5 separate regions of the Homo sapiens genome follow, and regions 1, 2, 4 and 5 are each linked to region 3. The links are contacts of gene promoters, found by promoter capture Hi-C in blood cells and fetal thymus (Javierre and others, 2016). All regions are on one chromosome and are shown on one strand. The core of a region is centred on a gene start or on the middle of the fragment in contact, and the rest is flanking DNA. Distances in the headings are between cores, read along the strand shown. Region 1 overlaps LPIN2 (lipin 2). Region 2 overlaps SMCHD1 (structural maintenance of chromosomes flexible hinge domain containing 1). Region 3 holds the start of EMILIN2 (elastin microfibril interfacer 2). Region 4 overlaps SMCHD1 (structural maintenance of chromosomes flexible hinge domain containing 1). Region 5 overlaps LPIN2 (lipin 2).

Region 1 (5,002 bases), core at 1,362-3,861, 110 kb before region 3:
TTCCTGGTACCAGAAGGTGTTCCAGAAGAAGCTACTTTCCCTGCCTCAGCTCTGGCATTAATTATTTTACGCCAGTTCCTTTTATTGAAGAATAGTATTTACGAACAAAGATCTGCTTATTAGGCGTGCTCGTAACTCCTGAGGTATCATTGCTTCTAGGCAGCCCAAGCTGGCAGAGCCAGGAAATGGGTGGATGTGTGCACGTGTACACACACACACACACACACACACACACACACACCCCTGCATCTATATATGAAAATCATGAGGGCACACGGGTTCCTCCAATTCCCATCCACCATCGCAGGCTTCTTTCCCCCTCCTTATTTATAATTTTTTTCTCTTTCAACAGGAAACATGGTTCTGATTATCGTCAGTATATCTGCTTAGTTACTCAATCCTAGGAAACACAAAATAGTTTCAGAATTGCTAACTCAAATCTCTGTGAATGTATTAACTACTGCACAATGTTTGTTTGGAGTAACATATCAAATATGTCTTTAGACTTATAATACAAGTCAAAATACTGTTTCCAAGGTAAGGTTAGTTCCATTCTTCCTCACTTCAGTGTGGTTATGTTATTCATACATAGGAGGTTTTTTTGTTTGTTTTTGTTTTGTTTTGTTTGTTTTTCTTTTTGAGAGAGTTTCGCTTTTGTTGCCCAGGCTGGAGTGCAATGGCGTGATCTCGGCTCACTGCAGCCTCCGCCTCCTGGGTTCAAGCGATTCTCCTGCCTCAGCCTCCCGAGTAGCTGGGATTACAGGCGGGCGCCACCATGCCCAGCCGATTTTGTATTTTTGGTAGAGGCGGGGTTTCACCATGTTGGTCAGGTTGGTCTCGAACTCTTGACCTCAGGTGACCTGCCCACCTTGGTCTCCCAAAGTACTGGGATTACAAGCATGAGCCACTGCACCCGGCCCATACATAGGAGTTTTATAACAAGCATTTTGACAAAATATGTTGATAAGGTTTGGATGTCCCCTCCAAGTCTCATGTTGAAATGTGAACTCCAGTGTTAGAGGTGAGCCTGGTGGGAGGTGTTTGGATCATGGGGGCAGATCCCTCATGGATGGCTTAGCACCATCCACTTGGGGATGAATGAGTTTTTGCTGAGTTGACAAGATCCAATTGTTTTAAAAGTGTGTGGCACCTTTGTGTGGCACCCCCAGTCTCTTGCACCTGCTCTCACTATGTGACGTGTCTGCCCCCACTTCGCCTTTCACCGTGAGTAAAGGTTTCCTGAGTCCTCCCCAGAAACCAAGCAGATGCCAACGCCGTGCTTGTACAGCCTGCAGAACCATGAGCCAGTTAAACCTCTTTTCTTTATAAATTGCCCAGCCTTGTGTATTTCTTTATAGCAAACACAAAAATGGCCCAACGCATATGTCTACCTGAATTTTTTTTTGACATGATATTACTTATCCCATCGTTTCACCTGGTTCTTGGGAAAATGGAACCGCCATCATCAGTGACCAATCACAGCACTGATTGTCACCTGTTACTTACGTAGTGATCTGTGGGCAGAAGAGCTGTCGGTGAAGTTGTACTTGATGCAGTTGCTCACAGCTCACATACTGAGGTTCCTGAAACTTGTGTGTATCTGAACCGTGTGAGGTGAGGCCTGCCTGTGCCATAACTTGGAAAGTGTGCAAATGTTTGACAATAATATTTCCCCCATTTTAAATTTGAAAAATAATTTTAAAATTTTTATATGTTGTAAAAATAGATGGTGAAACACTTTCTTTCAATTCCTGGTTGTCCATCTCTCCCTCTGCCAGCTCCATTTGGCTTCTTAGGGGTTGGGTAGGGGCAAGTAGCAGTGTTTCTCAGAGGCTGTAGTTCTAGGAACCTCAAAACTATGCTAAGTTTGACTTGAGAACTCAGAGTTCTGGTTTAGTTTAACTTGAAGGAAAGACTCCTTGAACATTAAGTCATACTTTGTTTCTCCCATAGATTGATATAGAAATCAACGGCAGTGCAGTGGATCTTCACATGAAGTTGGGTGATAACGGAGAAGCTTTCTTTGTTGAGGAGACTGAAGAAGAATATGTAAGTTTGCATGGGTTACACCCTCCTTACACAGTGTGCTCAGGCCTCTGGTACGTGGCCCAGACGGACCGTTTAGCAGTTTTTTATGGTTGATTGTACAGAGGACTGTTGTTGGCAAGACAAGCTTTAGTTTCATGTTGAAGAACTAAGCTGTCAAAAAGGAACTGAAGGGATGAGGAATTTTTCTCCATACAAAGTTTCAGGGTGCAGGGAGCATGCTGAATGCACATACTTGCACTTTTTCTAAGGGAAGGCACATCACTTTCTAGCTTTAATGAGCTTTCTTACTTAGTGTTGCTTCTGGTTCACATATTGACTTGAATACATTCAGTTCTGCCTGAGTAGGGCATTTCTCTTCTGGCTATGTGTTTATCCACATGTGCCCTTTGGACTGGGACTCATGTTTACCATTTTGGTTGGGATATTACATCCCTCACCTTGAGTAGTCAGGTGAATTAATTTATTATGATCTCAAGAGAGTTAAATTAATTGGCCTATATCCTTTTATAAGTGATTACATGTTTGACTTCTTCTAGCAAACGAGCATGATTTGTTAAAATCCCCCCTCCCCAGCACACACATTCTGTATGTACTGATTTGAACGCTAGTTAACGACGGATTCTTGATGGATTCAATGTGGATCTTTTTATTTATTTATTTATTAATAATAGATTTTACATTCTCACTAAAGAACTCAGATCACGTAATGTGCATCTTTTTAAAAATTCTTTCAAAGGCATCAGTACATCATTCTTCATAAAGAATAAAGTCTCAAATAGCAAAACTGATAAGCATCAAGTTATTAAGGATACAGGACTACTTTTTTGGCTTTGAAGATGAACTTACAGTTTGATACAATAAATTTACAAAGAAAATTATTACCAAAAAATACGATAGCAAAATGAGATTGTTTATCATTTTTTGATTGAGAAACCAACAACTTAGGTACCAGTAGGTAAAGCAGCATTGAAACACTATGATTTATGAAGGGGAAGCTTGATCAGACTGGTGCTTTTTCTAGTTTCTTCATTACTTATCTTTGTAATACCTTGTTTGCATTTACTTGGCCTAAGCAACATTTTTCCTTATCAGAGACAGAGGCAAAGAGCAGAATGAAACATAATAAATGACATCTGTCAAAAAAAAAAACCACTTTTTGTATGTTTCTTAAAATTATTTATAATTCATAACACTGAACTTCTAGATCAGCAGGCACCGTAAGCGAGAGGACTGGGTTATTGATGTTAACCTCGTTTTCATGGCTTATTCTGACAGTTCCGCTAAAAATTATGCTCAGCAAGGACAACTTGGAAAATGTCAACTTTCCAGCCTTTTTCTCCCTATTCCACATATGACTACATTGACCAGAGTTTATCTTGTGTAGTATGCTTCTCCTTAAAATAAAAAATTGTTAATTTATCCAACAAATGTTGGAATTACTACTCTATGCCACATGCTATGAATACAACATGCCTCTGTTCCTCTAGGGGTTCGTCATTTAGAGTAGGATAAAGATGACCAAAAACCCAGTTTGTTGCCATTTATTTGATTTTTTTCTCTCAGATTTTTCTCATTTAATTATATGTCATCAACATTCTTTTCAAGTCTAGTTCTAAACCTAACTCTGTGCTTTTAATAGCTGCACAGTATTCCATAGTATGGACATACCATAGTTTGTTTAACCATTTTCTTGCTGGTAGGCGTTCAGGTTATCTTCATCCTACAAACATTGCTATAATAGAACTAAGAAATACCACCAGAAACAAAAAGAGCTTTCAGTAAGTAAAATAAAGATCATTGAATTAAAAATCCTCAAAGTCAGAGACCACGACCTCTCATCTGGGTTTCTTTTGGACATTCAGAATATCTTATTACAATTTCTCTGTAAGTGTGTGTTTCTGGTGAACACAGATTTCTCCTAGCTAAATCAAACTTTAGCTTCAGGGTAATATGTTTATCAAAGCTAAGTTCAAAAGCTTAATAAAAAAATAATTACAGAAACCTATACATTTTCAGAACTATTGTTTAAAAGCTTGAGTATTTTAAATTATATGAGGTTAATTTTTTTGTTGTTTGTTTTGAGATGGAGTCTCGCTCTGTTGCCCAGGCTGGAGTGCAGTGGCATGATCTCGGCTCACTACAACCTCCCCCTCAGGTCCAAGCAATTCTTCTGCCTCAGCCTCCTGAGTAGCTGGGATTACAGGCATGCATCACCAGGCCCAGCTAATTTTGTATTTTTAGTAGAGACAGGGTTTCACCATGTTAGCCAGGCTGGTCTCAAACTCCTGACCTCAGGTGATCCGCCTGCCTCTGCCTCCCAAAGTGCTGGGATTGCAGGCGTGAGCCACCACGTTCTGCCTGAAGTTAATTTTTATCTCTATTATGTACCTTCCATTTCCTCTGATGATACAAAAAGGAATGAAACAAATGGCTAAGACATGAATTTACTGAACACCAGACTTGATCGTTTATTTAGTATTAGGAGTTTGACTGCTTCTAAATATTGGGCCTTATTTTCTTCTTTTGAATTCCTACAGGAAGGAATATTTCTTATTTTTAAACATAAATGCTTTATGGTTTAAAAATTTACTAATGTCATTTGTTACACGGTATTGTCTCTAATTGCCTTTCTCCAATTAATTTGGCAAAACATAAGCATTGGCCGCTCTGTATCACTGCATCCTCGCGTCACTCACCTGTCCTGCTGCCCTTTGTCTGATGTAGTGTCCTTAATCTCTGCCTTCTGCTTTTTCCTGTTCTGAATGTTCTGTGTGAGTTCTTGAGAGAGTCCTTTGTAACACCTCCTGAGATTTTTGTTGCTGCTTTGATCTTTGCTTTGTGAAGAATTTAATAGGCTTAGCTTTAATTATGGCTTTGGGGTGTTCCATGCTGACTTGGCATGTCAGTTCCTTCAGATGGACTCAGTTACATGTACCCAAGTGGGCTGGTACTT
Region 2 (4,637 bases), core at 1-2,500, 110 kb after region 3:
GGAAGTGGTCTGAAATTGTTTAACAAGTTAGAAGTCTTTAGTGACACCATTAATTGAAGTAGTTCCAACATGCTACAGAATAACACATATATAATGTTCATATCCAATAACTCAAATACAATAACACTCCTTCAAATAACTGTTTAATTTATATAATCTGCTATTAATCCAAAAGAAAATAGGAAAAAGACACTTTGCAAAGATAGTAGAGAATATGGACCAAAAACTTACAGACATGTTAAGTCACAGTATTTATGCTGGATTAAAAGGAAATTATGACAAGAAAACAGATGAGTTAACAACTCATTGAGAGATCTCATTACGGTCAGAATGCAGTACATTTGAAAATTCTATCTCAAAAACAGAACTATCCTAAGTGTTGGGTAAAGTATAGAAATGGGTAGAGGAATTAAAGTGCAAGAGGTTATTGGAAAAGAGGTGGCCAAGAAATTGATAGGCCAGTGTAAAGGTTTTTTTTACACATTCACTTAATTCTGTCCCTTCAATATGAGTTCTACATATTAACTCTGGTTGGACTCTCAGCTTTAAAAATTCTCACTAAGCAATGAAAGGATTTTTCCTTCTGAACAACACTGACTGATCACACTGTATCTTTTGTATTTTTCACGTCTTTGTCATTTTGCAGGTGTTTTCACTGTTACTGGCACTAAACTTTCCTTTAATGAAGGTTCCAGCTACTAGAAGGCCAATTCAGTGCAAGATTACAGTGATAACAAAAATTAATCGCTATCACCAATGACACTTTATTCCAAAGACAATCTATTATATTTCATAGAAACCGTAATATTTTTACATTAAAAACAACTTTCATATATGTGCAATGGAGGACAGTATTTTGTTGCCATAGGCTGCAAAATATAATGAGTCCACAAACCTTACTGTAAACGCACTTTCCAAAGACACATGATCATCTTGGAATGAAACCTGGCAATAGCGCATATCTTTTACAGATGTTGGTACTTGCACATCAGGAAGCAGACCCTGTAGCAAGTGTTCTTTGTTAATCTCAGGAGTCCAATTAACCTAGGAGAAAAAGAGATATTTAACAATAATAAAGCTTCGTCTAATGTTCTCTTACTGCCACTTATCTTACTCTTAAAACTACATTATAATCCGTCTTCTTCACCCCCAAGAAAAAAGTCTCTTTATGGTCAGAAACGGTGTGGTTCATATACTAATATGATACAAAGGCATCCTCTTTGTCTTTGTTGTTAATATTGCCCTATTTTTTTAGTGAGATAAAATAAAAATTCTTAAGTCATTTCTTTAGAGCTCTGCCACAAAAGTATCACTGTGGCCATTATCGTTTAAAAGTAACATATAAATCAGATCATGTGATTAATTCTGAAAAGCAATATTCAATTATTTTTTGAAAAGAATCCTATTTATGGGAAAGCTTTCAATGAGATCTAGGTGGACGTTATTCTTAGCAAGGTGAGAAAAAAGAAGTTTGATCTAACTTTCTGGCCATACTTTGGCCTTAATCTCTTCTTAGGTGTTTTTAGTTCTGTATTAATTTATACCTCTTACATTCCATATTTTGTCACTTAATCCATACTTTTTCAAGTTGTTTGCTCTACTCTGTACTTACTTTTAAACTCCCAATACTTTCTATTTAAGAATTCTGACCTCAACTTTCTCTCTACTTTTATTTAGCCTTCTATAGTTGTGATTTTAAAATCACTCATATTCTATTTTTATTTTTGGTTTTTATAGACAAGGTCTCACTCTGTAGCCCAGGTTGGAGTGCAATGATCATAGCTCACTGGAGCCTCCAATTCCTGGGCTCAAGCAATGCTCCTGCCCCAGTCTCATGAGTAGCTGAGATTACAGGCATGCACCCCAGGTCTGCCTAATTTTTTGTTGAGATGTGGTCTCACTATGTTGCCCAGGCTGGTCTTAAACTCCTGGCCTCCAGCAATCCTCCCACCTCAGCCTTTCAAAGTGCTGGGATTACATGTGTGAGCCACCACATCTGGCCTTAAAATCACTAATAGTCTTTTTAAAAAAAATTTCTAAATTACACTTTATTTTTCCTCTACTTTTAGGTTCAGTAGGTACGTATACAAGTTTGTTACATGGATAAATTGCATGTCACTGAGATTTGGTCTATGAGTTATCTCATCACCCAGGTAATGAGCATAGTACCCAACAGGTAGTTTTTCAACCCCTGCTCCTCTATTACCCTCCCCTTTTTTGGAATCTCCAGTGACTACTTTTCCTATATTTTTATGTCCATGTGTATTTAATGTTTAGCTCCCACTTTTAAGTGAGACCATTCAGTATTTGGGTTCCTGTTCCTGCATTAATTCACTTAGGATAATGGCCTCCAGCTGCATCCATGTTGCTGCAAAGGACATGATTTTGTTCTTTTTTATGGCTGTGTAGTATTCTGTGGTGTATTTTCTTTATCCAATCTACTACCGACAGGCACCTATGTCTTTGCTGTTGTGAATAGTGCTGAGATAAACAGAAAACTGCACGTATATTTGGTGAAATGGTATTATTTTCCTTTGGGTATATATACAGTAATGGTATTGCTGGTTCAAACGATAGTTCTATTTAAGGTTGAGAAATCTCCAAACTGCTCTCCACAGTGGCTGAACTAATTTACAGTCCAACCGACAGTGCATAAGTGTTCCCTTTTCTCCAAAATCTTGCCAACATCTGTTATTTTTTGATGTTTTAAATATAGACATTCTGACTGGTGTGAGATGGTATCTCTTTGCTTTTGACTTGCATTTCTCCATGATTATGATTATGATGTTGAACATTTTTTCACATATTTGCTGACCACATGTATGTCTTCTCTTAACAAGTTATCTATTCATATCCTTTGCCCATTTTTTAAATGGGGTTGTTTTTTGCTTGTTAAAGTTCCTTATAGATTCTGGTTATTAGACCTTTTTAGAATATATAGCTTGTTAATATTTTTTACCATTCTGTAGGCTGTCTGTTTACACTGTTGGTAGTTTCTTTTGCTGTGCAGCTGTTTAGTTTGATTAGGTCCCACTTGTCAATTTTTGTTTGTGTTGTAACTGCTTTTGGGGACTTGGTCATAAATTCTTTGCCAGGGCCGACATCCAGAATGGCTATTTCCTAGGTTTTCTTCTAGAATTTTTATGGTTTGAAGTTTTACATTTAAGTCTTTAATCCATCCTGAGTTAATTTTTGTATATGGTAAAAGGTAGGGATCCACTTTCATTCTTCTGCATATGGCTAGCCAGTTATCCCGGCACCATTTATTGAATAGGGAGTCCTTTCCCATTGCTTGTTATTGTCGCCTTTGTCAAAGATCAGATAGCTGTATGTGTACAGTTTTATTTCTGGGCTCTCTAACCTCCTCCACTGGTCTATGTGTTTGTTTTTGTACCAGTAGCATGCTGTTTTGGTTACTGTAGCTCTGCAGAACAGTTTGAAGATGGGTAGTGTGATGCCTCTCATTTTGTTATTTTTGCTTAGGATTAATCACTTTGGCTATTTGAGCTCTTTTTTAGTTCCATCTGAATTTTAGAATAGCTTTTTTCCAATTCTGTGAAAAATGACAGTAGTTTGATAGGAACAACACTGAATCTGTAGATTGCTTTGGGCAGTACTAGTTCTTCTGACTCAGGAGCATGAAATGTTTTTCCCTTTTTTAGGTATCATCTATGATTTCTTTCAGTAGTGTTTTGCAGTTCTCCTTGCAGAGATCTTTCACTTCCTTGGTTAGATGTATTCCTAGGCATTTTGTGTTTTTTGTGGCTACCGTAAATGGGACTGTGTTACTGATTTGGCTTTCAGCTTAAAACGTAGTACAGAAATGCTACTGGTTTTTGTATACTGATTTTGCATTCTGAAACCCTACTGAAGTCGTTTATCAGCTCCAGGAGGATTTTGCCAGAGTCTTTAGTGTTTTCTAGGTATAGAATCATCTCCACAATGATGAGACAGTTTGACTTCTTTTCCTATTTGGACACCTTTTATTTTTCTCTTGCCTGATTGCTCTGGGTAGAACTTCCAATAGTTGAATAGAATTGGTGAGAGCAGGCATCCTTGTCTTGTTCCAGTTCTCAAGGAGAATGGTTCCGGTTTTTGCCTGTTCAATATTATGTTGGCTGTGGGTTTGTCATGGATGGTTCTCATTATCTTGAGGTGTGTTCTTCAATGTCCAGTGATGGCTTTTATCACTAAGGGATGTTGGATTTTATCAAAAGCATTTTCTGCGTCTACTGAAACCATATTAAATCATACGGTTTTAATTTTGTTTATGTGGTGAATCACACTTTATTTGCGTATATTCAGGGTTGGTTCAACCCTGAATCTCAAAAATAAAGCCTACTTGTTCGTGGTGAATTAACTTTTTTTTTTTGAGATGAGTCTTGCTCTGTCTCCCAGGCTGGAGTGCAGTGGCGCAATCTTGGCTCACTGCAACCTCTGACTCTCGGGTTCAAGCAATTCTCTCTCTCAGCCTCCTGAGTAGCTGGGATCACAGGTGCCCGCCACCATGCCTGGCTAAATTTTTGTATTTTTCTAGTAGAGATGGGGTTTCACCATCTTGGCCAGGCTGGTCTTGAACTCTTGACCTCGTGATCCACCTGCCTCATCCTCCCAAAGTGCTAGGATTACAGGTGTGA
Region 3 (4,592 bases), core at 2,016-4,515:
TTCATTCATCCACCAATTCTCAAAACTTAGGGGCCAGACATGGTGGCTCATGCTTGTAATCCTAGCACTTTGGCAGGCTGAGGCGGGCGGATTGCCTGAGCTCAAGTTCGAGACCAGCCTTACCAACATGTTGAAACCCTATCTCTACTAAAAATACAAAAAAAAAAAAAAAAAAAATTAGCTGGGCATGGTGGCACACACCTGTAGTCCCAGCTACTCGGGAGGCTGAGGAATGAGAGTTGCTTGAACCCAGGAGGCAGTTGTTGCAGTGAGCCAAGATCACGCCACTGCACCCCACCTTGGGTGACATGGTAAGACTCTGTCTCAAAACAAAACAAACAAAAAACAAAAAACAAAAAAGAAATCTTAGGAAGCATTCCTCAGTTGAAAAATAAGATAAACCATTCTGTTCCATCCCTAAAGAAACTGAAAAAAGTCAAGACTGAATTTACTGCTGAAGCTAATGTCAAGATTTTCAGGTTCATCAACTCAGTCTTTGTTTCTTAAACTTCACACTTACAGTGCAGTACTTAAAATGTAAAAATGCACTTGTATTGTTTATATGGTTATTATTGAAATAAAACATCCAGGTCACTTATTTTGGCTTTGTTTAATAAAACAACAGAAACATCTGTCATTTTTTATAATAATTCTGTTGTCCTACTCACTGGGTGGCAAAAATGCACTCCCACTGCCTTGCATTGACCTGCCAATCTGGAGGCGATTCACTCCCCACTGACAGCCAAGTTTCACTGAGTTTTGGTCAAATAGAACAATTAAATCATCCTTTGGTTTTCCAAGCAGCTAAAATAATTTGAGAAAATAAAAACAAGCCATCTTTTAAACAAAAATGCATTACCTCCCAAAATGAAAAATTCATTTATCTCCGAATTGTCACCAGTAAGTTTTAAGGTTATAGCAAGCCACACCATGCAGTTCTTGTATAAGATGAATAAAATATTCCTGACTAATAACTCAATTCTAATTTTAAACAAATGCATTCAAACTGAGTTGAATACTTAGTTTGTATCACTCCCACAGTGTAAAAACCTTGCTTGGTTCTGATGTCGTTGACTGCTGGCCATAGACGATGAGGTCTCAATCTTACTAAGAGATTAAGGTTGGATGACAGTACCTTATCTCTCTGACAATGTATCCAACTCAAAGAGATAGCCTAGCTGGGCATTCAATTTCAGCGTTTTCCACTGTATATTAGGAAATGGGGACCTCGTCTAAGTTTCTGTTTGTTTTACTTTGTTTTTGCCGAGCAGGAATTAGCTGAACCCTGTTGGCAGCTCCTCCAGAAGCCCACGTGGGGTGGACCCAGCGACCACTTCCCATAAGACTACAGGCTCATCTACTGTTCTCTGGAATAAGGTTTCCTGGAGTACAAGTTCCAGTCTGTCCCTTGGTTTTGCCAAAGACAGATCCGCCTACTGACTATTCTCTGCTGTAATGACAACTGTGCTCTAAGACAAACAACTTATTCTTAGTGGAAAACAATTAATTTCAGCCATCACATGTGTTCCTCAACAGCCATTTATTCACACTGGCCCATCTTCCGGTATCAGACTGATACAAAACCCCCAAAGACTTGCCTGATGACAATTGAATGAGTGTCATGTATTTAACGGCATTTGTACTTTATTGCATTGCTTCCTGTTTTTTTTTTTTTTTAAGATGGGGAAATCTTTATAAGCAAAAAGATGATTAATTCTTCCCCCTGTCTTTAACGGCCATTCTCTCCCACAATCTCTAGAGAATCTCCAAATCTAAGTTGCGGGGAGGGATGCTGGGGAGCCACACTTTTAAGCAAAGTGTTCCTGAGGTTTTAGCTTAGACATCTACAAAACTGGAAGATTCCGTTTTATGGGGACATACGGACAGAACTCACTCGTTTTAGAACACTACTTAGCCAAACCTCTCAGCGAATCCTATACGGAATAGTCTTTAGCAGTATACATTTTGGAATCTTCTGTGTGCCCCAGAACACACAATATGGATCCAATTAGATTCAGCTGCCTTATGTTACAAACAAACATTGAAAGGGAGAAAACAGAAGTGGGAGTGGGAGCTTTGTTCATCCTCTCCTACGCCCCCGCGACCCCACACTCCCGAGGCGCGCGCATCCTCCCCACTCACTCGGGCAGCACCCACTCCCTAAATAGCCCAGCGTGGCCGGTGCCCCGCGAGCGCTCGGAGCGCTTTTCCGCTGCGGGCTTTTCACCGGATCTGGAAGGGATTTACCGGAGGGACTGGAGCCCAGCGCAGCAACCCCACCCCACCCCCACCGCCCCGGCCCGGGCGCGCCCCGCCCGCTCCCCGGCTCCAGGACTTACACCAGCGCCGACGGACAGGGCATCTGGTTCCAGGCACAGTTGTACTGAGCCTGAATAAAACTCTCACTTCCCTCCAGCACGGAGCAGCTCACATTCTTGTTCACGATGTAGGCGCACCAGTTCCTGGGGTGCAGGAGAGAGAGGGAGAGGGGCACGGGGTAAACCCGGAGAACAATGAGGCCAGGGGAGAGGGGACTGCGGCACCAGACCGAGCGAGGGTCGGGGGGGCCCGTCGCCCTCTGCGGAGGCGGGAGCTTCACCGAGCAGACGCCGGAGGGTGCCCGGGTGCGCCTCTGGAGAGCGCGCGCCTGGACCCGACCAAGACGGGAAAGAAAAGCACCCATGGTCCCAGGGGCTCATGGAATTCCTGGGAGTCGTTTTCGGATCGCCCGGGTCTGCGGGACGCTCTCTGCGCCCACGCCCCCGGAGTCAGCTCTGCCTGAGGCGCCGGCTGCGGAGCGCGCGGTCCCCCGCAGAGGGAGCCGCCCGGGGAAGTCCAAGGGAGGCCCCCGGCTGCCGCTCGTCGTCTTTGGCAGGGCAGCTCTGGGGCTCAACTGGGGGCCGGGGAGGGGTAGGCGGTTTGGGGCCAGCCAAGGGGCGCGCACTTACTTGTTCCTGGCGCTGGGCCGCGCGGGATACCCGGGCTGCGGGCCGGCGTGGCACAGCCCCGCGCCAACCAGGGCCAGCAGCGCCAGCGCCCAGCGCCAGGGCACGCGGGGCCAGGGCCGTCTGGGCTGCCACATCCCGCGCGCAGCGGGCGCGCCCCGCCTGCCCGGGTCCGGAGCGCGGCGGATCGGGGCACCGGCCACAAGGCTGCCGGCGGCCAGGGCGCCGCCCGCGAAGGCAAGAGGCTCGGGCGCTTCGCGGCGCTCCAACCAGTGCTCCGCGGCCGCCCCCTCCGGCTTCTCGTTCCTACTTCTCCTTCTGCAGCCCCGTGCGCCCTGCGCTTCTCCCCGGTCCCTCAATGACGCACAGGTCCCCCCGGGTGCCGCCCTCTTTATTTCACTTCCCTCTCCGAAACGTGACTCTCCCCCCACCAAGTCTCCCCGTCTCCAGTCCCTTCGCTTCTCGGCAGGGGGCTCGGGGTGGAGGGGCGAAAGGGTTTGGGATAAGGGTCTACGTTACAGCATTTCCAATGACTCATTCCTTTGGTCTCTTCCCAGATGCCGAGCGACTCCGCCTCCCACCTTCCGACAGGCTCGCTCCCGGCCCCCCGGGACGCGGCCGCCGTCGGCGAGTCTGGCCGTCCTCGCGTCGTGCCTGGGTGCCAGCCTCCCGGGGCGAATGAGGGACATGTTTATCAGTCCCGCGGGGAGAGGAGTGGGGGCTCGACTCGAATTTCCTCCTCGGGCAAGACAGGGCCGTTCCCCCACCAGCTCCATGGACCTAGAGAGTCCAGGAGGAAACGAACGCTGGTTCTTTCTTTGCCCAACTCTGCCTTAGGCACCATCTGACAGTTTCCGAGGCCACGCGGGGGGCGGCAGGACAGGACAAGCCACAGCCCCGCCAATTCCCAGAGGCTGCTGCAGCTCAGCGTCCGGCTCTATCACTTACTGCAATTCTCCTCCAATTCTTGAAAGGTGATCTCACAGCCTCTGCTTCTGAGGTCCCACTGTGAACTTTCTTTTTCTATTGAAACTAAGGCATTTACTCACGTTTGCTTCTTAACAGTTCAGGCACTGCTAGACATCCGTCTTAAACTTTCTTGTATGTTTTCTGCCTGTTGTTGAGTTACACTAATCTCTACCGATGTCTTTTTGGGATGAAGTACCAGAATGTTAAGTAAAATCACCACCCAAGTGTTGTATTCTAAGGGGTGTTGGAGAGAGCTGTGTGTTTGAGATGACCTGCTGCATCTAATCAATGTACAGGGTCGTGAGTGGCGTGGTTACCAGACTCCACAGATAAAACTGTGGCCTCTGTGAGCTAACCAGACGCTGTTGGCCATGACTCGTTAAGTGAATAAAGCTTTGCTATGGGCCAGGCGGGGTGGCTCACGCCTGTAATCCCAGCACTTTGGGAGGTCGAGGCGGGTGGATCACCTGACGTCGGGAGTTCAAGACCAGCCTGACCAACATGGAGAAACCCCGTCTCTACTAAAAGTACAAAAAAAAAAAAAAAATTTGCCGGGCACGGTGGCACATGCCTGTAATCCCAGCTACTTGGGAGGCTGAGGCAGGAGAATCGCTTGAACCAGAGAGATGGAGGTTGCAGTGAGCCGGGATCTCACCACTGCACTCCAGCCTGGGCAAA
Region 4 (4,934 bases), core at 1,130-3,629, 130 kb after region 3:
TAAAACAGAAACAAAAAGATTGAGAACATTTTTTTAAAAATTGGGGATTAAATCCAGAAGGTCCAACATCCAATAACTAAGAACGCTAAAAGAGAAAACAGTGATGACAGAAGACACAGAATGAAGTATTTCAAATAATGAATTGTTAAGAGACATTATATCATACTTGCAAAAGAACATAGAGTAAGACATAAACACCTTAACAACTTCAGCAATAAATCCAGTCAAAACATAAACTTTAGTGAAGCAATTTATATATGACACTAGTCACAGAGGATAGCTTGGAGCTAAATTACCCAGATATAATAAAATTCACTAATATTTTAAATAATTAAAGTTGAACACCTTACACACAAAAAAAATGAAGCTGAAAAAAAGAGTAAATGCTTAGCAAATATCAAAGGACAAATACATATTGATCCTTCAAATTACCTTGCTTCAAGAACTGGCTGAATATCAGTTACTAGTTGACTGGTATGACCAAATTCATCCTGAAACTCCAGAGGGATATTAAATGGAACTCCAACACGAAAAGGAAGATCCAGAAGACCAAATGAAAATTTCTCTGGCTTACCCTCTTTAACAAAAACAAAAATGAAATGAAAAGCAAGTACATTGGTCAGAAAAGCCATTGGGGGTCAAAAACAGATCCATTTCTATCTGAGAAATTTTAGAAATCTATTTTAGACTATGCTAAAAATAACATTTTAAAATCAGCGCAAAAATTATATGTTATGCAGACAATCCACTTGGGAAAAACCTCCTGAGTAGCTGGGACTACAGGTGTGTACCACCACACCTGGCTAATTTTTGTATTTTTTGTAGCGGCAGGGTCTCATCATGTTGCCCACACTGGTCTTGAACACCTGAGCTCCAGCTATCTACCTGCCTCCCCAGGCGTGAGCCACCATGCCCAGCCATTATACCTTTTCATAGGAAAGAGCTTTAAAGGCAAAACACGATATTCAATAGTTATAAAATGATATATATGATGAAGTTAAATAGAAGCTCGACATGAGAAAATATTTGCAACATGTGTAACAAGGAAAATTCAGACTACATGAAGCCCTCCTATAAATTGGCTGTTCTCAAAGTGTGGTCTCTAGTCCTGAAGTTTTAGCATCCCCTGAGAACTTATTAGAAATGCAAATTCTAGGGCCTATCTCAAACCTGCTGAATCAGAAACTCAGGGTGAAATTCAGCAAGCTGTGTTTCCTTTCAGGTGATTCTGATACAAACTCAAATTTGAGAACCACAGCTTTAAACTATTAAAATGGGCATAGTAAATGAACAAGCATTGGCATACAATGTCCAATAATGGCTAGAAGAGGTACACAATCTAAAAATTAGAGAAGCAGTTTCACCACCAACTATGCTAAATGAATATATAGTTCAGCCAGGAATGAGCATGCAGTCAATTGGAACTCTCATAGTGAGAAGTGAAGGTACCATGGCATAGCCTTTTGGGATGTCCACTTCTTGGTATCACCCTAAAGAGATTCTAACATACGTACAGAAAGCAGCATAATTTTTTTTTCCCCAAAAAGCACTACGGTTTCTAATAGCCAAAAACTTGGAAACAATCAACACGATTCATCAACAGGAAACTGCTTAAACTACAGCACGCCCATCTTATGAAAATATGTTCCACAGGTGTTAAAAGAACACAGTAGATTTATGTATAAAAAAGTCTCCTAAAACATTTAAAAAAAAAGAAAACCACACTCCAAGGTGGGCCTTCTTGATATCACAGCTACCTAGATCAGTTCTCTCCAAAAACCCTGTAACAATGACTCTACAAAAGCAGTAAACAAGAAAAAAGATGAGAGTAATAGAATTGGAAAGCCAAAGAACATATGAGTAAGTGTAACTGACTTAGCAGAAAGACCCAAGAACATCAAATACTCAAACAACAAAGCAAGCAGAGACTGAATCTGATTCACCGTTATCAGACGCCCATAAGTCTCAGGAATGGCTGTATAAAGTTGTAGTGAAATTGAAATAAAACAAGAAGGTTGGCTGAAGTCAGTTTGAGAAACAGTTTCACAGATCCCCATCCTTCAATGCATGTGCTAGTCAACGACCCTCCTCATCCCCAGCAAAAGATGGAAGGTTTATTCTTCAGGGAAAGAAGAAAAGGTCTAGAAGTGAGAGACACAGCACTACTAAAAGTGTCACTGACCAGGCGTGGTGGCTCAAACCTGTAATCTCAGCACTTTGGGAGGCCAAGAAAGCAGGATAGCTTGAGCCCAGGAGTTCAAGGCCAGCATGGGTAACATAGTGAGACCCTGTCTGTATTTTAAAATCTAATCAATTAAATGTAAAAGTGTCACTGAAAATAGGAAAGTGTTTATTGAAAATAGGAAAATCACGTGGAAAATTATATACTAAATATGAGGACCGCCCCCCTACAAACATAAATGGTCTTTCTCAGCTTGGTTCCCAAAATGCTGGCAGCTAGGTCTTGTACCCTTTTAGCAGGTGACTGAAAGGCTCCACTCCGGGGAATCTGAATAGCCAAAGAGACAAGACCTAAAAATTCTCATATCATAATTACCCCAAGGAAATTTTCAAGTGCCCTATTCTTCAATGTTAGCAAATCACTAATTATATAACAGAATATCTAATAAAAAAACAACATGGAGGAAACAAACTATGAATCAGGAAAAACGCTGTAAGAAAAACCCCCACTATTATTAATATCCTCAGAGAATAAAGATACTGAATTCATGAAGTAGGAAGAGAATGCTTAAGGAATTGTTTAACAAGATTATTTTAAAAGAGATTTTAGAAACTAAAAATGGTAGCAAAAAGGAAAAAATAGAAAGCATAGAACATCAAGCTGTTAAGAAAATCTCCAATAAGGTAGTAAAAACAAAACCAAGAGATGGAAAGTAGGAAAAACAAAAATAATATACCAATCCTGAAATCCAACATCCTAACATTAGATATTTTAGAAAGAAAGAACAGGTTGGGCACAGTGGCTCAAGCCTGTAATCCCAGCACTTTGGGAGGCCGAGGCAGGAAGATGGCTTGAGGCCAGGTGTTTGAGGCCGAAATGGGCAACATAACATAGCAAGACCCTGTCTCTACAAAAAAATGTTTTTTAAAAATTAGACAGGGCCACGTGCGGTGGCTAACATCTGTAATCCCAGCACTTTGGGAGGCCGAGGCTGGCGGATGACCTGAGGTCAGAAGTTCAAGACCAGCCTCACCAACATGAAGAAACCCCATCTCTACTGAAAATACAAAATTAGCCGGGCGTGGTGGCATACGCCTGTAATCCCAGCTACCCGGGAGGCTGAGGCAGAAGAATCGCTTGAAACTGGGAGTCAGAGGTTGCAGTGAGCCGAGATCACACCATTGCACTCCAGCCTGGGCAACAAGAGCAAAACTCCATCTCCCAAAAAAAAAAAAATTAGGTGCAGTGAACTGCAGTCACACCACTGCACTCCAGCCTGGGCAACAGAGGAAGACACTATCTCCAAAAAAGAAAAAAGGCCAGGTGCAGTGGCTCACACCTGTAACCCCAACACTTTGGGAAGCCAAGGAGGGCAGATCATGAGGTCAGAAGTTCGAGACCAGCCTGGCCAACATAGTGAAACACCATCTCTACTAAAAATACAAATAAATTAGCCAGGTGTGGTGGTGGGCACCTGTAATCTCAGCTACTTGGGAGGCTGAGGCAAGAAGAATCGCTTGAACCTGGGAGGCAGAGGTTGCAGCCAGCCAAGATCATGCCACTGCACTGTATTCCAGCCTGGCCAACAGTGTGAGACTCCATTGAAAAGAAAAGAAAAGAGGGGAGAGGGGAGAGGGGAGAGAGGAGAGAGGAGAGGAGAGGAGAGAGGAAAAGAAAAGAAAAGAAAGGAAAGGAACAGAAAAGAAAAGGAGAGAAAAAGAAAATAGAAAATCAAAGTGATTCAAGAAAAATTCCTAGAAAATAAAACAGGGATTTCCAGACTGAAAGGGTATACGAGGTACATGGCTGGATGATACTAGATAAAAACAGGCCTATGCTAAATCATACAATTGAATATTTCAGAAACTGGGATTCCCCTAAAACTTGAGGACTGGGGAACAGAGAACGTTTTGGGGGAGGAGGGGCAATATGCCCAGGGTCAGGAATCAGGACAGCTTTAGACTTTACCAGCAACAATGAAAAGTAGAAAACAATGTCTTCAAAATTCAGAAGGAATATGATTATCGAGTAGACTTACAAAGCTATTTGAAAATCAAAATGGGCCGGGCACGGTGGCTCACATCTGTAATCCCAGCACTTTGGGAGGCTGAGGCAGGTAGATCATCAGAAGTTATGAGATCGAGACCAGCCTAGTCAACATGGCGAAACTTTGTCTTTACTAAAAATACAAAAAGCCAGGTGTGGTGGCGGGCGCCTGTAATCCCAGCTACTCGGGAGGCTGAGGCAGGAAAATCACTTGAACCCAGGAAGCGGAGGTTGCAGTGAGCCGAGATTGTGCCACTGCACTCCAGCCTGGGTGACAGAATGAGACCCCATCTCAAAGTAAGTAAGAAAATAAAATAAAATCGAGATGGTTACCCAATTGTTCAAACATCTTTTAATGGCTTATCTCTCTTTTCTCTTTGGATTTAAAATGCCACCTTTAGCATATATAATTATATATTACTGTTTTGCTTACCTTTAACAGAAAACTTAATTGCTTTAGATGGTAGTGGTCTTCCTGCATAAGTGTCTGCATTACTTTCATTCAACACAACTTGTAATTTCAAGGTATAATTCCCCAACTTCTGAATATTTTCTGGATAAATTAAGAAGAAATTAAAAATCAAGTCAACACAATACCAATGTATTTTTTAACATTCAGAATAAGAACTCACCCATTTTTTTAAACCAGTAAGGCCATTTTCCTCCATGTTGACTAATATGCGAAATAATCTCTTTATTTCCACTT
Region 5 (4,705 bases), core at 1,937-4,436, 83 kb before region 3:
CGGCATCCCCATGTGTGTAGATGTTGTTGTTACTGGTTGGGGTAACACTAGCTGCTGTAGAGGTGGAACTCCTGATCTCGTTGGCCTACCACGATGGAATTTTGTTTCTTGCCCCTGTGAAGAATGCTCTGTGTTGGTGTTTAGGGGGAGGCCTTGCCCACAGGGATTCAGGAACACAGGCTCCTTTCACCTTGAGGCTCTCCCATCCCCATAGGGTCTCAGAGTCCAGAGTTTACTGGCAGCAGAGAAAGGAATGAGCATCGCATAGGAGAGGGCCCCTGGGGAGGGGCACCATGTATGCCTTCCGTCCATATTCACGGCTCAGTCATGTGCTCACGTGGCCCCACCTGACTGCAAGGGGGCCTCGCCGTGTGCCCCGGAGAAAGAGGAGACAGGTGTGGTGAACACAGAAGGGTTGGCCTTGCCCCTCACTCCCAGTATAACAACAGTTCTGCTGACTTTGTGTTTCCAGTGAGAACATTCTGTCAGTCCAGTTAATCTCAATTTTGTGGGTATGAGTGTGCATGGCTATTAAGAGGAAAAAATATCCAAAAACCTGAATTTTTTTGTTGATTCAAATGGGAAACAGGTTTTGAAACTGTTACCTAGTTAAAACATAATCTGTAGTCTGCTGCCACCTACTGCTCAAAGATGAGATTTGTTTGAAAGAGCCAGTAAACCTCTGGGTCACTGTTTTTTTAATTCACATAAAAATACTGGCTTTTTGAATAAAATAAGTGAATTTGAAAATTCTCAATATCTCAAATGTGACATTAAATACCTATTCAAAGGGTATAGAGTAGTAAGCATTGGGGACTGTGAGACTTAAGGTGCTGTGCCATTCATGATTATTCTTTCTCAAATTTACACTTCATTGCATAAGGTTTCCCTTGATCACCTTCTGAAACCTGGCTTCTGTGCCTTATCTTGAAAAATGAAAATATTCAGTAACCTCATCTTTAGCTCCTGGAATAACAGTTACATCCAGTTTATTTCTGAATACATTTCTTTTTCTAGGTGGGTCTTGCCTCTAGAGAATTTGCTCGTTTAATTTCTCCTTCCTTCTTTGTGAGGTAATAGGCGAACTTAGAAAAGATTTGGTTTTAAAGAATATAGCCTTGGACTACAGTAATTTTCTACAGGATGTATAAAGTGCCACAGCTTTTTCTAGGACGTTAGGATCAAAGGTTTCCAAACAGCAGATTTTCTTAATTACCCTGTCATTTTCATCATGGAAATGTAAATAAATACTTATAACTATTTTACTCCTTTAATTAAAAATCAGAAAGGCCACAGTTGAAATGTTTGCATTATTGTGAATGACCGTGGTGATTTTGTGACGTATTTACTATATTCACAGTTAATTTCTCACTGGTACTATATTAGGTTATCTTTCATGTCATTTATGATATGATTCTAAACCCTATCTAAGAAAAGTTATGCCTGATTGTAGGTCCATCCGTTCTTTTTAGCGGATGTGTTATTTGGTTTGAGCCCCCAGAGAACCATGCAGTAAACTAGGAATTCAAGGAGTTGTAATAAAGCACATCTTTTCCCCATCCCCTGTCCACAGTGAATCGGAGCCCGGTTCCAGGCAGTGGCCCGAGTCTGACACACTCTCTGGCTCCCAGTCCCCACAGTCCGTGGGAAGCGCAGCTGCAGATAGCGGCACCGAGTGCCTCTCAGATTCTGCCATGGACTTGCCTGACGTTACCCTCTCCCTTTGCGGGGGCCTCAGTGAAAATGGAGAAATTTCAAAAGGTACGTTGGGTGTTTGTGCCCCATCTTCATTTCAGAGAGCAATCTGGTCATCACTTGGTTAAAACTTACCGTGTAGCCATTTCAGGATATTTACATTCTTTAGGGATCTTGTGCAGGTAACAGGTATGTTCTGTAATGTCAGACCCTTATACCCTCACTTAAGGTCTTAATTGACACCTCTTTATGGAGTGGCTTTGAGGTAGTGTGCCCTTAAAGGCTCTAATTTCAAATTAAGAGGTTGGGAGTTATCAGGCCGCCCTGTTTTCTGAGCTGCCAGGGTGCGATCATCACACTGCACCAGTTTTCTCATCTGTAAAGTTACAGAAACATTTGTGGAACTGGGGCCCAGCTGCCCTTCTGGAAAGCACTGGGCCTTAGACATGAATATAGGGCCCTGAAGTTGTAGAAAATTGATTGTCCACTGAGTACGTGGTCTTTCTGGCAAAAATTAGGAGGATTACTTTCTGTATAAGGCTGGAGGGTTGGCCTACGAGAGTAAAGCTTGCTCAGGAATCAGGAGGGAGTTTAGCAGACATGTCAGGATGCCTATAGGCTGGGCTGAGTGCCATGTGCATCCGTCCTCAATTCATCAGCATTTTTTTTTAACCTTCCTTTTAAAACTGAACTCTTAGTATTTCTCAGTTTGGCCTGTGGCCCCTGTATGATTTTCTTCTAAGGGAAAATTTTCTTTCCGTGACTAGTGTCATCTTTTGTCTTCCCTCTCCCTTAGAGGAACTGAAGGTGTGATGTGGCAGACTGCATGGCCAGAGGCTCAGGACCATGTGTTCCTGAAGTCTTTCCTTTCCAGGGTCACAGGAAGCTCATTATGCCTCTTCCCTGTCTCTTCATTGTTTGTTTGCTTTATATTTTGCAAGAAATTTAAAGTGTGTTATGGCCAATGGTTCATTCTAGGGACTAAGTTAAATAGGTCACATTCTTTCTGTAATCCTCTTAAATGTTCAGTTTAAAAAATTATATGCGAGGGAATGCGAAATACAAAATGTAGGTAAAATATAAAAGTTACACCTTTGTTTTAAATATTGGTGACTTAGTCTAGTAGAGTTTATTGGAAGAGGCAGAAATGACAAGTAAATGTAAGTAATACACACATTACCTGGAGAAACAATCCAAGTGAGCAGTTTCTCTGTTAGCCTAGATCTAGGAGAATACAGGTTTAGGAACAGGGTACAAAAATTCATGGGAAGCCCTCATTCACTCTGCAAGAACTTGGGATTTATTTCACAGACCTTGAGCCAAATTCTAGGTTTTTTTGTTTTGCCTTGTTTTGTTTTTTTAATTCTCCAAGCAATTGTAACATGTAATTTTTGTTGTTGTTTTTATTATTTAAGACAGAGCCTTGCTCTGTCACCCAGGCTGGAGTGCAGTGGCACCATCTCAGCTCACTGCAACCTCCATCTCCTGGGTTCAAGTGATTGTCACGCCTGCCTCAGCCTCCCAAGTAGCTGGAATTACAGGTTGGCACCACCATACCCGCCTTATTTTTGTATTTTTAGTAGAGATGGGTTTTCACCGTATTGGCCAGGCTAGTCCCTAACTCCTGACCTCAAGTGATCGGCCCACATCGGCCTCCCAGAGTGTTGGAATTATAGGTGTGAGCCACTGTGCCTGGCCCAAACAATTTTAAGATATGTTTTGATATAATGTAGCTTGCTAAAGCTGTAAGACCCCTATGAATATTCCCCAGTTATGCCGTTGCCTGTCAGTAAAGTTTCTTCCTCTGAGAATAGAACTTCGACAGTTTTCGTGTGTGTGTGTCTGTCTGTCTTTCTGTGTCTGTCTTCCGTCCCTCTCTAGCCACATCTGTATGTATTTTTTTTGAAAGTCTCTGTCATGTCCCTTTTTACTAGTTTGTTTGTTTTCACTGGGAGACAGTGGAAAAGGAGAATAGAAAAGAAGTGTTCTTTCTTGTCCTGGGGAAAAAAAGCGTCTGACATTTTGCTTTTGATGAATATTCAAAAATTAGTTTTTTTAGACAGATGATTTTAGCCTTCAATTTCTGCAATGCAGAGAGTATTATAATCTCATATAGGGATTTATGTAATCTCTAACCAAATTGATTATTATTTTACATTGCAGAAAAATTCATGGAGCATATCATTACTTATCACGAATTTGCAGAAAACCCTGGACTTATAGACAATCCTAACCTTGTAATAAGGATATATAATCGGTAAATACTCCTGCTTTTATAATTGTTAAATACTCTTGCAGTTTTTTTACAAGTGCCATTTTTAACTGTTACTTATAAAAGTGTTCCTTCTTATAAAACTTGTCATCTCATATAAATTAGCCAGTGGGCAATGACTTTGAAGTGAAAGTAAAGCTTCAATTTTATTTTTAAAAGAAGCATTGAAATGTTACTCTGTTTGATAGATTTTACGGCTTCTCTGTTCAGAGAAGTTGTGCTTGAAGCGAAGGTTATTCATGTGACAAAAAATTCAGCTGATCATCTTTATTGAAAAGAATAAGCAATTTTATATGTCACTTCCCTCCTCCCTCCCTCCCTGATTCCCTCCCCTCTCTCTTGCTCACTTTCACTGTGTAATGGTTTTGCACAATTTTTGTTTCTCACAGTTACTATAACTGGGCTTTGGCAGCTCCCATGATCCTTAGCTTGCAAGTATTCCAGAAGAGCTTGCCTAAGGTGAGGCGATCCACCATCTGCTGCCTTTCCGAAAGCATCCGCAGTGTCTAGTACTTACACAAATCCATATGTGCATATTTCTGAACTGGGTACTATTCAAAGTTTTACTTGAGCTTAATATTTAATATAAAAGATCAAAGTCATATGTACCCACTAAAAATATCTCATGCCCAAACTCTGGGAAATTAGCAGGGCTGCCACTTCTTTATTTCATTTTTATTAGACATAAATACTAGTTTCTGATGGTCTGTAAAAGTTGAGAGATTTTACTAATCATAA

The links. Contacts are between HindIII fragments. The CHiCAGO score rates a contact against its expected background, and 5 or more counts as called.
Region 1: a fragment that was not itself captured here is called in contact with the fragment with the promoter of EMILIN2 in region 3 in 1 of 17 cell types (monocytes); the score reaches 5.0 in monocytes.
Region 2: a contact is called between a fragment that was not itself captured here and the fragment with the promoter of EMILIN2 in region 3, in 1 of 17 cell types (monocytes). The highest score is 7.6, in monocytes.
Region 4: a fragment that was not itself captured here is called in contact with the fragment with the promoter of EMILIN2 in region 3 in 1 of 17 cell types (monocytes); the score reaches 7.9 in monocytes.
Region 5: a fragment that was not itself captured here is called in contact with the fragment with the promoter of EMILIN2 in region 3 in 1 of 17 cell types (monocytes); the score reaches 5.6 in monocytes.

Annotation. Positions count from the first base shown.
Region 1 is chr18:2,951,551-2,956,552 of GRCh38, reverse strand. LPIN2 (lipin 2) reads left to right here. Exons shown (of 20, transcript NM_001375808.2): 3 at 1,954-2,049. Among named protein-coding and RNA genes, the nearest start is that of LPIN2-AS2, 13 kb to the left of the region's middle. The HindIII fragment of the contact is 871 bases long and covers 2,176-3,046 here.
Region 2 is chr18:2,734,804-2,739,440 of GRCh38, reverse strand. It overlaps SMCHD1 (structural maintenance of chromosomes flexible hinge domain containing 1), which reads right to left. Exons shown (of 48, transcript NM_015295.3): 26 at 896-1,044; 27 at 1-9. Among named protein-coding and RNA genes, the nearest start is that of SMCHD1, 81 kb to the right of the region's middle. The HindIII fragment of the contact is 339 bases long and covers 1,081-1,419 here.
Region 3 is chr18:2,845,679-2,850,270 of GRCh38, reverse strand. It overlaps EMILIN2 (elastin microfibril interfacer 2), which reads right to left and starts at 3,265. Exons shown (of 8, transcript NM_032048.3): 1 at 2,949-3,265; 2 at 2,340-2,462. The coding sequence starts at 3,082. RefSeq lists silencers at 2,288-2,377, 2,998-3,047. The HindIII fragment of the contact is 11,570 bases long and covers 1-4,309 here.
Region 4 is chr18:2,718,162-2,723,095 of GRCh38, reverse strand. SMCHD1 (structural maintenance of chromosomes flexible hinge domain containing 1) reads right to left here. Exons shown (of 48, transcript NM_015295.3): 18 at 4,861-4,934; 19 at 4,662-4,781; 20 at 433-577. Among named protein-coding and RNA genes, the nearest start is that of SMCHD1, 65 kb to the right of the region's middle. The HindIII fragment of the contact is 5,122 bases long and covers 1-4,934 here.
Region 5 is chr18:2,928,312-2,933,016 of GRCh38, reverse strand. It overlaps LPIN2 (lipin 2), which reads left to right. Exons shown (of 20, transcript NM_001375808.2): 9 at 1,574-1,761; 10 at 3,859-3,952; 11 at 4,357-4,426. Among named protein-coding and RNA genes, the nearest start is that of LPIN2-AS2, 36 kb to the left of the region's middle. The HindIII fragment of the contact is 1,843 bases long and covers 2,265-4,107 here.